Linked DNA regions of Homo sapiens: all the other regions are linked to region 2. Evidence: promoter capture Hi-C in 16 types of primary human blood cells and fetal thymus (Javierre and others, 2016). All regions are on one chromosome and are shown on one strand. Each heading gives the region's core, a stretch centred on a gene start or on the middle of the fragment in contact. The rest is flanking DNA. Distances are from core to core; before and after follow the strand shown.

Region 1 (2,700 bases), core at 165-2,664, 210 kb before region 2:
GCGTGCAAGGGTTGCAGTTGGAGAAAAACATCATTAGATTAAGGGTTTCGCTGCCTTACCCAGCACAGCTGCCCCAGGCCGCTGGCCTCTCCATGCAGTGGATGGTGGATTGACCCGGCGTGAACTCTGTGCAGCTCCCGGAGGGGCCTGAGGTGCACGCACACCAGCAGTGGGGAGGGCAGTGGGGCTCAGGCACTGCGGGAGCGAGGGTGGGGGCAGCGCCCGTGGAGTTGACCCCGGAGCCACCCGTGCGCCAAGCCTGCCGGCATCCTCACAGGTACAGGCCACGCGGAAGCCCCCAAGAGGGCGTGAGCCCCGGCTGCGTTTTAAGCCCTGGAGGAGGGGATGTTGTGAGTGGCTTCAGACTCCTGTGCCCTGGTCCGTGGGCCAAGGACTGGGGCTGGCATCTGCACTCGGTGCTGAAAGCTTCCAGCAAGAAGACTTGGAGCTTCCTTTCTAAGGCATCTCCCTGGCTCTCAGGAGTCTCTGCGGAGCTGAGGGTGCCCGTGGCCTGCCCCAAAAGGCCCAGCAGCCCCAGCGCCCTCCTCTCTGGGCCTGGACCCACAGTGAGGAGGGGGCCACGCTCCTCAGGGGTACTGAGGGCAGGGACAGGAAGATTGTGGGAAGTGCCTGGCTCGAGTGATCAGCCTCCGTCCCTCTGGCCCCATGGAGACGGGGCCTTCGGGCCCTGATGGAGCTGCTCACCGGGGCTCAGGCCTTGGATCCCCCCACAGGGCTGCTGTCCCAGGAGCAGAGGTCCCTCCCTGTGCCCTGGCCCTTGAGGCCCCTGGCGTGTTGCTGGTGTGCATTAGTGTGTGCACAAGAGTTAGCTGGAGGCCCTGCCTGCCGCGTGGCTGCTGTTGTGTCTCCACAGGCTGTGGGGCAAGAGGCAGAGCATGTGTGGTCTGTGCTCGGCCGCCCCAGGCCTGGCGGAAGGGCTGGGCAGGCTCCTGTGAGCGCTGTGAACGCCGGGCACCCCCCGCGGCGCCGTCTTCCTTCCTCACCTCATGGAACCCTCTTGGCGTTTCACACGCGGGGACTCTGAGGGCGGGTTGTCGGGGACAGCACTCCACGGCCTCTTGTGGCATGTCCAGATGATCTTTTCAAAGACATCTGCAGGAGGCAGAGACGGTGCCTCGCCTGGGCCGGGGCAGTGGCTCCCTCCGCCTGGGATCTGGGGTCTCCCTGCCAGGGCTCCCTGTGTGTGTGCAGGTCCCGGGCCTGGCTCCAATCCTCAAAACCACCATTGCTGTGAAAACCACCCTGGAGGGTCGTGTCTCTGGCCAGCAGCCATGAATCCCGCAGGCCATTGAGGCTCCTCCGTGTGCAATCTCAGTGCCTTGTGCAGCTGGACGTGTGAGGAGCTGCCAGGGCCGTGGGGAGCCGGGCTGGCCCTGGCCAGAGTTGTTTCCCTGCCCCACACCCTTTCACCATTTCGCAGTCTCCACGAGTGTCCTGGGTCTGTGCATTTTCGCACATGGACTGCAGTCCTGGAGAACTGGGATGTGGAGGAGGTTGGGAGCAGTGGTGACAGCAGGGCCAGAGGCGACACAGAGCAGAGGAGCAGAGACCAGGTGAGGAGCAGAGACCAGGTGAGGAGCGCAGACCAGGTGAGGAGCACAGACCAGGTGAGGAGCAGAGACCAGGTGGGGAGCACAGACCAGGTGAGGAGCAGAGAACAGGTGAGGAGCGCAGACCAGGTGAGGAGCGCAGACCAGGCGAGGAGCAGAGACCAGGCGAGGAGCAGAGACCAGGTGAGGAGCAGAGACCAGGTGAGGAGCAGAGACCAGGTGAGGTGAGGAGCGCAGACCAGGTGAGGAACGCAGACCACGTGAGGAGCGCAGACCAGGTGAGGAACGCAGACCACGTGAGGAGCAGAGACCAGGCGAGGAGCAGAGACCAGGTGAGGAGCAGAGACCAGGTGAGGTGAGGAGCGCAGACCAGGTGAGGTGAGGAGCGCAGACCAGGTGAGGAGCGCAGACCAGGTGAGGAACGCAGACCACGTGAGGAGCGCAGACCAGGTGAGGAGCGCAGACCAGGCGAGGAGCAGAGACCAGGTGAGGAGCAGAGAACAGGTGAGGAGCGCAGACCAGGTGAGGAGCAGAGACCAGGTGAGGAGCAGAGACCAGGTGAGGAAGGCAGACCAGGTGAGGAGTGCAGACCTGGCAGGGAACGTAGACCTGGCAGGGAACGCAGACCTGGCGGGGAACGTAGACCTGGCGGGGAACGCAGACTGGGTGTGGGAGCCCCAGCACACAGAGGAGCGCAGACCCAGTGGGGAAGCCAAGGCACGAGCTCGGGAGCCGGCGAGGGGTCCAGGTGCTGGATGAGCAGAGCAGGGTGGGCTCCGGGCCACGGGCAAATGCAGAGAAGGAGCCCTGGGGGAGGCAGAGGGAAGCTTTGCTGCGCAGGAGGGCGAGGAGGGGCATCCCTGGCTCTGGGCACACAGGTGGAGACAGAGGACAGCTGTGCTGTGCTGCATTTTCTGATGGAAAAGATGATAAACTATGTTCACGCTGCCAACAAATACTAAACAATGGCTTTCTCTAAAGCTTAAGAATCATTATGCTAAATAGTAAGTTTAGGGGAGAAGAGACAGAGTCCCCTTACAGAAGAACTCCGGAGAATTTGGTTGGATGCTACACCCTCAAGAAATAAAGTAGTGTTGGGTTACAAAGACATAAAGTAAGCGTCCAAGAA
Region 2 (2,795 bases), core at 174-2,673:
TATGAAGTACATATGTTGGCAGGTGTGCTGGCGCTCTTTAAATAAATTATATAAAATATTTCAGAGCTGGTAAGGAATTTGGAAAAGCGTCTTCCAATTTCCATTAGCATTGCAATCCCTAATCCCTAACTCGTATGCTCACACCTCTGCAAGGGTATTTTCAAAGCCACTTGCAGGAGCCCACCCGGCATCGCCAGGGGTGTGTGCCGGGGACGGGCTAAGGTGGGGGACTGGAATGTGAGATGCGCCGCAGGGGGGTCTCAGCGCCCCCCACACCGGGTTTCAGGGACCCACACTGTGCCATCTTTTTTTCACTATAAAGAAGCAGCTCGAAACTTGGCGGTTCCTTTTCAAACTTGCCTGAAACATCTTCTCTGGCTGGAACTCCTGCCTATAGGATTTCAAAATGGCTTAAATTCGGGGCTGTGCTGCGGCCGCGCTTTGGATCTTTTGGTCCTGCAGGTCCAGGAGCCGGCGTGACGGGCTCGGCCCTGGGGAATTCAGGGGCGCGGCGCGAGGGAGACGCCGCCACGAGCTCGGGGTGGGGGTGGGGGGCGCAGAACCCCCAAACCGCGATCTTGGCGCCAGAGGGTGGCTCTGCCTCGCTCAGGAAGACACGGGGCATCCTTCACTCCCAAGGAAGCCTCCCTTCCTCCCTCCCACGTGCCCTCTGTGGTCCTGACGGCCCAGCCTCGCCCGTCCCCAAATCGCCGGCCTGCGAGCCGCTTCCTCGGCGGGACCCGCGGCGGCCTCGCCTCGCGCCCTCAGCGCTGGGGCAGAGGAGACACCTATTGGCAGAAGGCGCGCTCGGAACCGGGCTGCTGGGAGCTGGGGGACGCCGTTCCCGGTCCGCGCCGCGCCCCTCCCTGGGCGCACAGACCCGGCCGACCTCGTTCTCTGGCCCGGACCCCTCCGTGCGGGCGACGGGGGCGGGGTCGGGGGGCGCGGCCCGGGCCGTGGGGGGCGCAGGGGTCCGGGGGCGGAGGCCGCGCGGGGCTTACCTTCCTCCGCTGACTTCATGGTGCCGCCGGCGCGCGGCGCGGGCCCCAAAGTTTCTCCTCTCCCGAAGACCGCAGCCGCAGGGCCAAGTGGAAACTTGGAAGGGACTGGAAAGCTGGTGCTTGGCATCCGCGCGGCGGCGGCGGGGAGTGGAGCGGCGGGCGGAGGCACAGGAGAAGCGGCCGCCCCGCGCTGCCGGGGTCGGGTCTCCGGGAAGACAGCCCTCGCCCCGGGCTCAGCGCCGCGCGCCCCGGAGGAAAGTCATCGAGGGGCGTGTGCGCGCGTGGCGGGGCCCGGCCGCGGCCCTAGGACCTGCGCGGTGGCTCCGAGCCCTGCCCGCGCCCCGGTGCCCGCGCCCTGCTGCTGGGATCTGGCGCGGCGACTCCGCCGGCGAGTTCGGAGCCTCTGAGTCTCGCTCTGACGCAGGGCCGCGCTCTGCCTCCTGCCTTTTTAAAGCTGGAAAACACCTCCCCCGCCTCCCCGCCGGCCCGGCGGCTCCCGCGCCCCCTCCCTGCCGTGACATCACGCCCCTGCTGCCCGGGCCCGCGCGGGGCCCCGGGGACGAGTCGCCGAGCGCCCGCCCCTCCCCGCGCCGCGGCAGCCGCTCGCCTGGGGGCAGGGGCGCAAGAGGCGGGGCGCGCACGGGGAGGGGGGGCGCACGGGGAGGGGGGGGCGCACGGGGAGGGGGGGCGCCCGGGGAGGGGGGCGCCCGGGGAGGGGGGGCGCACGGGGAGGGGGGCGCACGGGGAGGGGGGGCGCACGGGGAGGGGGGCGCACGGGGAGGGGCGCACGGGGAGGGGATGGGGGCGTAGGGGCGGGAACGGGGAATCCGGGGGCCGGGCAGGGGGGCGCTGGGGCTGGCGGGGGAAACGGGGGCGAACGGGCCAGACGGGACGCCTGAGTCCACGCGGGTGTCCGGAGGGAGCCCGGCCCTGCTGGAAAAGGGGCGGGGGGCGGGGGCCGGGGGCCGGGGAGGGGTGTCGAGAAAGCCCGGCATGCTGAAGTCATTATGTAAAATCGCAGGCTTCCCCCGCTGTGGAAATTTGGAAAAGCGCTTCACTGGCAGGCCCTAGAAAGGAAATTCCCATCCCGCTAAATTACTAACAGATTGCGTGGCCGTCCCGGGACGTCGAGTTATTGTCATTTTTATTCTGTAAATATCTGCTCGACCTAGACGGCCTGTGGCAGGGGCCGGCGTGGGGAGGCCCGGGGACGCGCTCACCTGCCCTAGCCGCCCGGAGGGGGCGTTTTATGGGCGCGACTGCGCGACTTCTGACGGGGGGAGGCCCCCCGGCCACTCACACTTTCCTCTCTTACGTCTCCCTGCGTCTCTTCGGGCGCAGCTCAGCTGCCAACACGGCACCGCATTTTCTTGTTGGCTTTGGATGGGGGGGGTTGGAGGTTAAAGTGTCTGGTGTGTAGAAACCATAAATCGATTGCACGACACCCTTATGTGATTTAAACTAAACCCAAAGGCTAAACTCGTGTCTGCTGCGGGGCCCAGGAGGTCCGCAGACCCCCAGGGATCACTGTGCCCCGTGGGTGCCCCCCACAAGCGCCTCCTCCCTGCCGGGGGAGGCGGTCGGGCGCTGCAGAGCCCGCGAAGGTGCGCGGCCAGAGCCCGTCCGTCCCGCGTCCCGAGGCCTGGCTCCATTCGGCCGCCCCGACTCAGCACAAATGGAACCCCGGCTTTTCCACCGCAGGCCTCGGCCTGGAGAGACGTGCCCGGATTAGCGGGGTGGTGGCCGCCTCGCTCCTGCGGCGTCGAGGCCATTTCCAGGGGTCTCTACCTGCGG
Region 3 (2,731 bases), core at 52-2,551, 170 kb before region 2:
TGGCTGCGTCCACTGAGGCTTCTGTCCACAATGGGCTGTTTGCCCTGCACCCCCTCTGACACTGGCCCCGTCAGTCCTCTGGGCTTCAAGCCTTCTGTGGGGGGATGATGGCATCTCGTGGTTGTCCTCCTGATGAATGGTGACACTGAGCACCTTTCCAATGTGGACTGACCATTTGGATATCCTCATCTGTGAAACTCCTGTGCCAGTATTCTGCCCATTAAAAAAATAGAGCTGTTAGCATGTTTCTTATGGATATGTAAGTGTTCTTTATATATATTCTGGTTATTTGTTGGCTGCATGGACCACCAATCTCTGAGTCTGACTTGCCTCTTCTTTTTGGAATGATGTCTTTCGATGAACAAAAGTTTATCATTTTAACGAAGTCAAATGAGATTAACCTTTTCCTGTATGGCTTGGATTTTCTGTGTCCTATTTGACTGCCCTGAGCAAGCTTTGCCTGCCCTGAGCTCGTGGAGATGTCCTGTTCTTTCTCTTTATTCTTTTATGCTTCACTTTAGGGCCAGAATCCACCCAGGCCACACTTCTTCTTCCCTGTCTCTTCCCTTAGACAAATGGAGGAGACGGACAGCGGAGAAGTGGAGGGAGCTGGGGGGAAACTCAGAGCCCAGAAGCCGGAGCTCAGGGAAACCACGTCTTCTGTGTTGACTTCGCCATCTCAGGGGGAAAGGAAGATTCACACAGACTTGCCCGCTCCCCTTGGCTGACTTTAGGTCAGGAAATAGCATGTTCACTTCGGTATGTGGGTGACATCATCAGCATGGCCACTGAAACAGGAGGTGAGGCTGCAGACGGGCTGGGATCCGCCTTGGCGAGCAGAGGCCTGCGCCTCCCTCCTCCACGTCCCCAACACCCCAGATCCGTGACATCCGACACCGAGCAGCTCACATCGCAAAGGAAACACAGCCAGCCCTGCCGAGAGCTGCCTTTCAAAGTAGAAAAAAATCCCCGGAGCAAATGTGTGCACAGGCCCTGCATTTAGAAAGAGGCGGCTTAGCCAGACATAGCTGGAACAAACATATAAAAAACATCTGTGCCAGGAAGCCACTCGCCAGCCCCGCAGACTGGGGGCCCCCACGGTGCCCTTGAGGGGCAGCAATGGCCCCGCCGCGTGGAGCCCCCCGCAGCAGCACCACCAGCCGCCAGCAACAGCTTTGGGCTTTCCTGCTCCTCACTGAAAATGGGCCACAGGCTCCGGGACAGACCACCTGCAGCCAGCACCCCCTGACCAGGGGCGGCACCAGCGAGACCCAGACAGACGGACCAGCAATGCCTTTCCACTTCTTCTCATCCTAATGTCAGTTTTCTTTCTGGTCCTAAAAGTAACGTGATCCATTGGAGACAAGTTGGAAAATGCAATGCAAATATATAAAGAATATGCTACCAGTCACCCACAACTCCAGGCCTAAGACGTGGCTGCATTTTGGTGTGTTGTAATCCTGTCTCACACCTTAGTCTCGTCACAACAAAGGAAGCGTTTCAGGGACACAAAAGCCTTTACAGAATGAGGGCAGATCCCACAGCCTGAGGCCAGAGGGACGAGGATGAGGCCGGGCTTGGCGCCGGCCAGGGGTGGGTGCCCGGGCACCGAGGCGAGTCACTGACACCGTGCAGTTCGGTGGGGCCTGGGGAAAGGTACAGCAGGAGGATTGTGGGGTGGGGACAGAAGAAGAGAGTCCTCTGGGATGGGGTGATGGGGACACAGTGGGTTTCACGACCCGTGCGAGAGAGGCCGGGAAGAGGCGGAAATGAGGACGGGCCCTCGGGTCAGTGCTGCCGCAGCCTCCTCAGAGAAGCAGCTTCCAGGCTGCAACGACTTAGACCTGTTTGTGAAACAGCTGGTTGTGAAATCAATTTAATGAGTCCTAACGAGCATTTTCAAAAAGGAGCAGAGCAGCATGGAAGCACCTATTTCTATGACCATAATGGAAGTCGTGATTTCTATCAGGGAATCACTCATCAGAGGGAGTGCTGTTTCACAAACTCTTATTTCACTTCTGCGTGTACGTGCTGGTTGTGATGTACAATGTGCCTCTTATTGTGGGTCTCAGTTTAAAAAAAGTTGCAAAGCCCTGGCTTAGAAGAAGAAAGAATTCAGAGGCCACATGTGACGACAGTTTAAGCTTCTGTAGATGAGAAAGGGACGGGGCACTCTTGGAAGCAAGGATAGTCCAGGCGGTGGGGCACGCGGATGCGAGGCTGACGGATCTCACACAAACGCACAGGGCACGCTGAGTTAGTCCCCTCGGAGCTCCTCTGATGTAGCCACGGTCCCTCCAGAACCTGCTGCGGCTAAGCCCCATCCGTCTCTGCGGTGGTCCCTCGCTACGTCCCACTTTCTCTTGTTCCTCCTCCTTTCCCCAAGTGACTTCTCCGGAAATGACTCTTAGAACAAGCCCAGAAATGAGCTCCAGTAAAGACCCAAAGGAACAAGAAGGCAGGCGTGCACACGACCCGGGACCCTCACCTCAAAGGAACAGGAAGGCAGGCGTGCACACGACTTGTGACCCTTCACGCGGCCCCCCGCCGTGTCAGCTTCAGTCGCACACCTGTGTCACAGCATGTTCACAGCAAAAACAAGGCATTTTACCTTTTCATAATATGGTCAGAAGTGGAGACTCTTTCCTTTCTCCTTTCAAGACGCTGAGCCACCCAAATTCCTTTTATATCCGTGATTAATAAAGGCATTGGCCAGGCGCAGTGGCTCACG
Region 4 (2,812 bases), core at 220-2,719, 240 kb before region 2:
TGGGCCGGGAGATGCCCGCGCCCCGAAGGCGCAGCAAGGCCGGGCTCTGCACCTGCCTTAGGAAGGAAACGGACCCTAAAGACAGAGAGAGACGGGATTTTAAAATGCAGCATTTCAGAAGATGTAACCCTTTATTAAGACCATTTCACCCCTTGTAGATGTTGGCGTGTTCTAGGTAAATGTCTTTCCCCAAAGGGACTTCGTCCCTCGGAGGCCTGGCCGGGCACCCGGAGCGGCTCTGCAGGTGCGGAGGGTCCGTGTGGAGGCCGCGTCACTCGGAGCAGGCTGTGGGCTATTGGTTTGTTCATTTAGATTTCGGATTTTTTAGTGGTGGATTCCCATTTATTTTAAATTTCAGATGGCTTTTCTGATGTTTCCGAGGAGTTTATAACAGCTCTTTGGGCCTCCTCATGCTGTTTATTTTCTTGTAAATTTGTCTGAGTTCATTGTAGATTCTGGATATTAGCCCTTTGTCAGATGAGTAGGTTGCGAAAATTTTCTCCCATTCTGTAGGCTGCCTGTTCACTCTGATGGCAGTTTCTTTAGCTGTGCAGAAGCTCTTTAGTTTAATTAGATCCCATTTGTCGATTTTGGCTTTTGTTGCCATTGCTTTTGGTGTTTTAGACATGAAGTCCTTGCCCATGCCTATGTCCTGAATGGTAATGCCTAGGTTTTCTTCTAGGGCTTTTATGGTTTTAGGTCTAACGTTTAAGTCTTTAATCCATCTTGAATTAATTTTTGTATAAGGTGTAAGGAAGGGATCCAGTTTCAGCTTTCTACATATGGCTAGCCAGTTTTCCCAGCACCATTTATTAAATAGGGAATCCTTTCCCCATTGCTTGTTTTTCTCAGGTTTGTCAAAGATCAGATAGTTGTAGATATGCGGCATTATTTCTGAGGGCTCTATTCTGTTCCATTGATCTATATCTCTGTTTTGGTACCAGTACCATGCTGTTTTGGTTACTGTAGCCTTGTAGTATAGTTTGAAGTCAGGTAGCGTGATGCCTCCAGCTTTGTTCTTTTGGCTTAGGGTTGACTTGGTGATGTGGGCTCTTTTTTGGTTCCATATGAACTTTAAAATAGTTTTTTCCAATTCTGTGAAGAAAGTCATTGGTAGCTTGATGGGGGTGGCATTGCACACGTATGTTTATGGCGGCACTATTCACAATACCAAAGACTTGGAACCAACCTAAATGTCCAACAATGATAGACTGGATTAAGAAAATGTGGCACATATACACCATGGAATACTATGCAGCCATAAAAAATGATGAGTTCATGTCCTTTGTAGGGATGTGGATGAAACTGGAAATCATCATTCTCGGTAAACTATTGCAAGGACAAAAAACCAAACACCGCGTGTTCTCACTCATAGATGGGAATTGAACAATAAGAACACATGGACACAGGAAGGGGAACATCACACTCTGGGGACTGTTGTGGGGTGGGGGGGAGGGGGGAGGGATAGCATTAGGAGATATACCTAATGTAAATGACGAGTTAATGGGTGCAGCACACCAGCATGGCACATGTATACATATGTAACTAACCTGCACATTGTGCACATGTACCCTAAAACTTAAAGTATAATAATAAAAAAAAAAGGAGATAAGGTTAAAAAAATAAAAAAAATAATAATCAAAACGCTTCTTCTCTCAAGGAATGTACAGTTTAGGGAAGAGGCAAAAATAAGTAAATATTCCAATAAGTATTGGGGGAAGGGCACAGAGAGCCAAAAAAGACCACAGGAAAAGGGATGTCTAGGATGTGTGGGGGGGTCACGGAGGGACCCAGAAGACAGAGCGTTTCAGAGCAGGTGGGATGGCGTGGCTTGTTAGTGAATGCCAGCAGAGCATTGGTGGTGTTTGCTGTTTATTTTCAACATCTTTTAAAATACAAGGGTAAACTAGCATTGAATTTAATTTGCCTTAGTTTCTTACCAGTTCCAAGCTAAAATATTATTACAAAATCCACGACCCCATTGAAACATGCGCTTGTGCTTTAGAGTATGAAAACATTGTGACGTGTGATGTGGGGACCGACGGGGCCGTCAGTGATGGCGCAGTTGAGAGGCTGTGACGTGTGATGCGGGGACCGACGGGGCCATCAGTGATGGCGCAGTTGAGAGGCTGTTCCCGGGGAGTGATCAGGAGCCACTGTCTCGGCCGCTGTCTCTTCATTCTCATCCCATTCCCCGAGGCCCTAAGGAACGGCGGGATTTGGATTTGATTGAGTAGCTCCATCCCTGTCGCGGAGCACAGGGGACAGCACCGCGGAGCCTCCACTCTCTGTGGATGTTTCGCCAGGGTTTGCAAGGAGGAGTAAAACTTGTCCTGGCCGCTCAGGTGTCTCTCCCAGGTTAAGACAGGCGCTGGTCACTGTGCCTTGTCTGCTGAGGGCATAGCCAGGAGTGTGACCGTCCAGGGATGGGGTGTGCGCTGGTGCCATGCACGGCAGAGTGGCCATGCTGAGACACCGTCTGGGAAGGAAAGCTCACTTTCTGGGAAGGAAAGCTCGCTGACTCAATGAGGAAGCACCAGCTGTGAGGCCTGAGTGAGCAGCACAGACACTAGGCATGTTCCTAACACTTGGGGTGTTCCTAACACTTGGGGTGTTCCTAATGGGACTGGACAAGTGTGGATGCCGTGGCTGGGACCCTAGTGCAACAGAAAGGGGGCAGGGGCCCGGTGGGCCTTCCTCTGCATGGGCTTCATTCTCACTGGAGGACAGGAGGGGGCAGCTGGGTGGCCCAGGGAACAAAGCCCAGCTGACTGTATCCAGGAGCTGTCCAGGAACCACGGTCCCACCAGGG
Region 5 (2,700 bases), core at 151-2,650, 190 kb before region 2:
AAGCCTGGGCTGTCCCCTCTCCCAGCTGGCAGAGGGCCCTCAGGTACGATGGAGAGTGAGACATGCAGGGTGGGGAGGGCAGGGCAGGTGGCAGGGAGACATGGAGGGCGGGGAGGGCAGCAGGGACAGGCAAAAGGAAGCAGCCCCACCCCTCTATGCCAGGAGCACCCCATACCATGACTGTGACAGCCACAGATGCCTCCAGACATGACCACGTGTTCCCTGGGGACAGAACCACCGGGCAGAGCACGTCCAGGCTTCCGGGGATCCCCGGAGGTGGCTGCCTCCTCACGGCGTCTCCCCATCCTTCCCCATCTCCCTTCTCCCTCCCCCGTCCCTGGAAAGGTCTGCTTCAAACCTGTGAGAAATGACTAGGGGCGGCTGTAAAATCAAAACCTTCCCCTCAGGCCCAGAGGAAAAATGAGCCACTTCCATTTCTTGGCGCTTTTCCCTGTGAGCCTTGGACAAGCTTCCCGAGGCCTGGCCTCCGCCCAAGCAGCCGGTCCCTCCCAGGGGCCTCCCCGTCGGGCTTCCTCGTCCTAAATGGAGTTGGAGGCGCCTCAGCAAACCCAGCGATGGGGCGAGGATTTTCAGAGCGGGCCCTACCTGATGATGGGAGGGATCATGTTTTCTCCAATATTGCCAGAATAGCAGTGTTGTAAAGGTTGCTACAGAAACACCTCGGGTCAGCGCCGAGTCCAAAATAGAGCGTCTAGACAAACTCCTACTGTCTGACCTTCGACGTGTTTCCTAATCCATCCAATCTTGCCAAGCAAATTGGTGACTAAGCAGCAATTCCCTTTACACTCTGTCATAAAGGCCTGACGAGGCCCAGGCGCTGTGCTACATTTCAGTCTGGCTGTGGCGGCCGCTCCACCCGCACGGCTCCCACGTGGCTTCCCAGCGCGATGTGTGCCTGGGTCGCCATGAACTAATTTCAAGGCCGAGTCCAAAAGCCACAGGGCTGCCGGAAAACAGAACTCACTTTCAGCCAGCAGGGCCCCAGAGTTGACATAAAATGTGAAGAGGGAGTCTGGAGGCGGCTCTGGCGAAAACAAAATAGAAGTTGGGGACGGGCCGGCCCCAGTGGCCTCCCTCCGTGCAGGGGCTGGGAGGGGGTGGGGCAGCGGTTCTGCTAAATGAATAGAGCCAGCTGCTTGGCGAGGCCGAGCCCCTCCTCTGTCTCCCCTGCAATGCTCTGTCCTGAGCCTCTCAGTCACCTGTGTGAAGGGACTCAGACGCAAGGAGAGTTGTGCTCTGCTCTAAATAAGCACAGTGGAGACCCTGATGTGGTGGAATGGGGCGGCTTCCTTTTGCCCTGAGTCCGAGGCTCTGGGTTTCGGGCACTTGGGCTGGGCATGCTGCAGGTGGGACGGGGCTGAGGCTCCACTGGGCAGGGGCATGGAGCTGCAGAGCGGGCACTTTGCGGTGAGGGAGGTGGTGTAGGCTGGGCAGAGTGGGACGTGGGCGGCCTGGGGGACACTGAGATTCATGGGTCGGGGGCAGGGGCTGCCCCGGGTGCTGCCGCGGGTGCTGCCGCCGGCATGGCCACGCATCTGGCTTCTGTGCCTCTGGTGACCAGGCTATTTCCACAGATGGCAAAGCTGGCTGTAATTGGGGTTGCTTCCCCAGGGACAAACCACTGGTCCTAAAATGGAAGGCGAGGGAGGGGAGAAGACTGTTTTACTGGAAAAGAGGCCACTTTGCCAGAACCACGTTGGTGCCACAAAGTGAGGAATACCTGTCTCTCCACACTGGTGCCAGTTGGCCCATCGCTGTAGCTTAACTGTCCAAAAAAGGAAAAAGAAACACTTCCACCAGATAGTATAACTCTTGGACCGGAGAGTGAAGTGGAAGCCTCACTCTAAACCTTTCTGCAGCTGCACGCTGGGCCTGGCCGGAGTCCCGCCGAGCAGAGCGGAAAGTGAGCCGGTACCAGTGCTCGTGGCAGGGTGAGCCTTGCGTGTGCTGCGTCTTGAAGGGGGCGGCTTTGCGGCTTAGCATGTCGCTTTTCTATACATACCAGAAACGCAAGTTTTCCAGAGTCCTCTGGCCAGAGGTGGGTGAGGCATTGGCAGTTCTTCAGAAGACACAGAGAAGCCTACATGTTTCTCTGAATTTCTCATAAACTGCCCCTGGCTGGCGCTGAAGCTCCTTCAGAGGCAAAGAGCTTCAGACGGGCGATGCCTGCCCGTTGGCCCCTGGCAGACCTGCCAGCCTCCAGGCTGAGAGCAGGGTTCCAGCAGCATCTGAGCAGCCAGGCCCAGGTCTAGCCACCGCAGCCCGCACAGGCCTCTGCAGCCCCCGACTCAGCGGCATGGGTAAGCTTGGCTCCGCGGGGCCACAGCAGAGCCTGGAGACACAGAGGCTATCCCTGCAGTGGCACCTGGGAGATGCCACTAAGCCGTTGCCTGCAGCCATGACTCAGCCCAGCAGTCCAAGTGCTAGACGGAGAGCTGCTCCCATCTACGGGGTGCCCACTGGGTGGGCAGGAGTGGGGCAGGCGAGGGGAAAGCTCCTGCCCACATCTCCTGGGCTCTGCGGCCTGTGCTGCTGGGTGCAGGGGGGCAGTCCAGGGACTGAGCAGGACTGTGCCACGGTGAAGAAAATCCACCTCCACCAGGGCCTCCACCACCTCCATCAGGACTAGAAACTGAGCAGGACTGTGCCACAGTGAAGAAAATCCACCTCCACCAGGGC

The links. Contacts are between HindIII fragments. The CHiCAGO score rates a contact against its expected background, and 5 or more counts as called.
Region 1: a fragment that was not itself captured here is called in contact with the fragment with the promoter of NFATC1 in region 2 in 1 of 17 cell types (erythroblasts); the score reaches 5.1 in erythroblasts.
Region 3: a contact is called between a fragment that was not itself captured here and the fragment with the promoter of NFATC1 in region 2, in 1 of 17 cell types (endothelial precursors). The highest score is 6.4, in endothelial precursors.
Region 4: a contact is called between a fragment that was not itself captured here and the fragment with the promoter of NFATC1 in region 2, in 16 of 17 cell types (M0 macrophages, M1 macrophages, naive B cells and 13 more). The highest score is 16.7, in M0 macrophages.
Region 5: a fragment that was not itself captured here is called in contact with the fragment with the promoter of NFATC1 in region 2 in 1 of 17 cell types (erythroblasts); the score reaches 6.5 in erythroblasts.

What each region holds. Positions count from the first base shown.
Region 1 is chr18:79,605,285-79,607,984 of GRCh38, reverse strand. No RefSeq gene overlaps it. Among named protein-coding and RNA genes, the nearest start is that of CTDP1-DT, 73 kb to the left of the region's middle. The HindIII fragment of the contact is 1,972 bases long and covers 429-2,400 here.
Region 2 is chr18:79,394,558-79,397,352 of GRCh38, reverse strand. It overlaps NFATC1 (nuclear factor of activated T cells 1), which reads right to left and starts at 1,423. Exons shown (of 10, transcript NM_001278669.2): 1 at 1,002-1,423. The coding sequence starts at 1,128. RefSeq lists silencers at 728-827, 1,188-1,587 and enhancers at 484-1,031, 2,673-2,792. The HindIII fragment of the contact is 8,960 bases long and covers 1-2,795 here.
Region 3 is chr18:79,566,021-79,568,751 of GRCh38, reverse strand. No RefSeq gene overlaps it. Among named protein-coding and RNA genes, the nearest start is that of CTDP1-DT, 110 kb to the left of the region's middle. The HindIII fragment of the contact is 1,690 bases long and covers 457-2,146 here.
Region 4 is chr18:79,634,787-79,637,598 of GRCh38, reverse strand. No RefSeq gene overlaps it. Among named protein-coding and RNA genes, the nearest start is that of CTDP1-DT, 44 kb to the left of the region's middle. The HindIII fragment of the contact is 5,621 bases long and covers 1-2,812 here.
Region 5 is chr18:79,587,185-79,589,884 of GRCh38, reverse strand. LOC284240 (a long non-coding RNA gene) reads right to left here. Exons shown (of 4, transcript NR_148949.1): 4 at 867-2,700. Among named protein-coding and RNA genes, the nearest start is that of CTDP1-DT, 91 kb to the left of the region's middle. The HindIII fragment of the contact is 1,857 bases long and covers 472-2,328 here.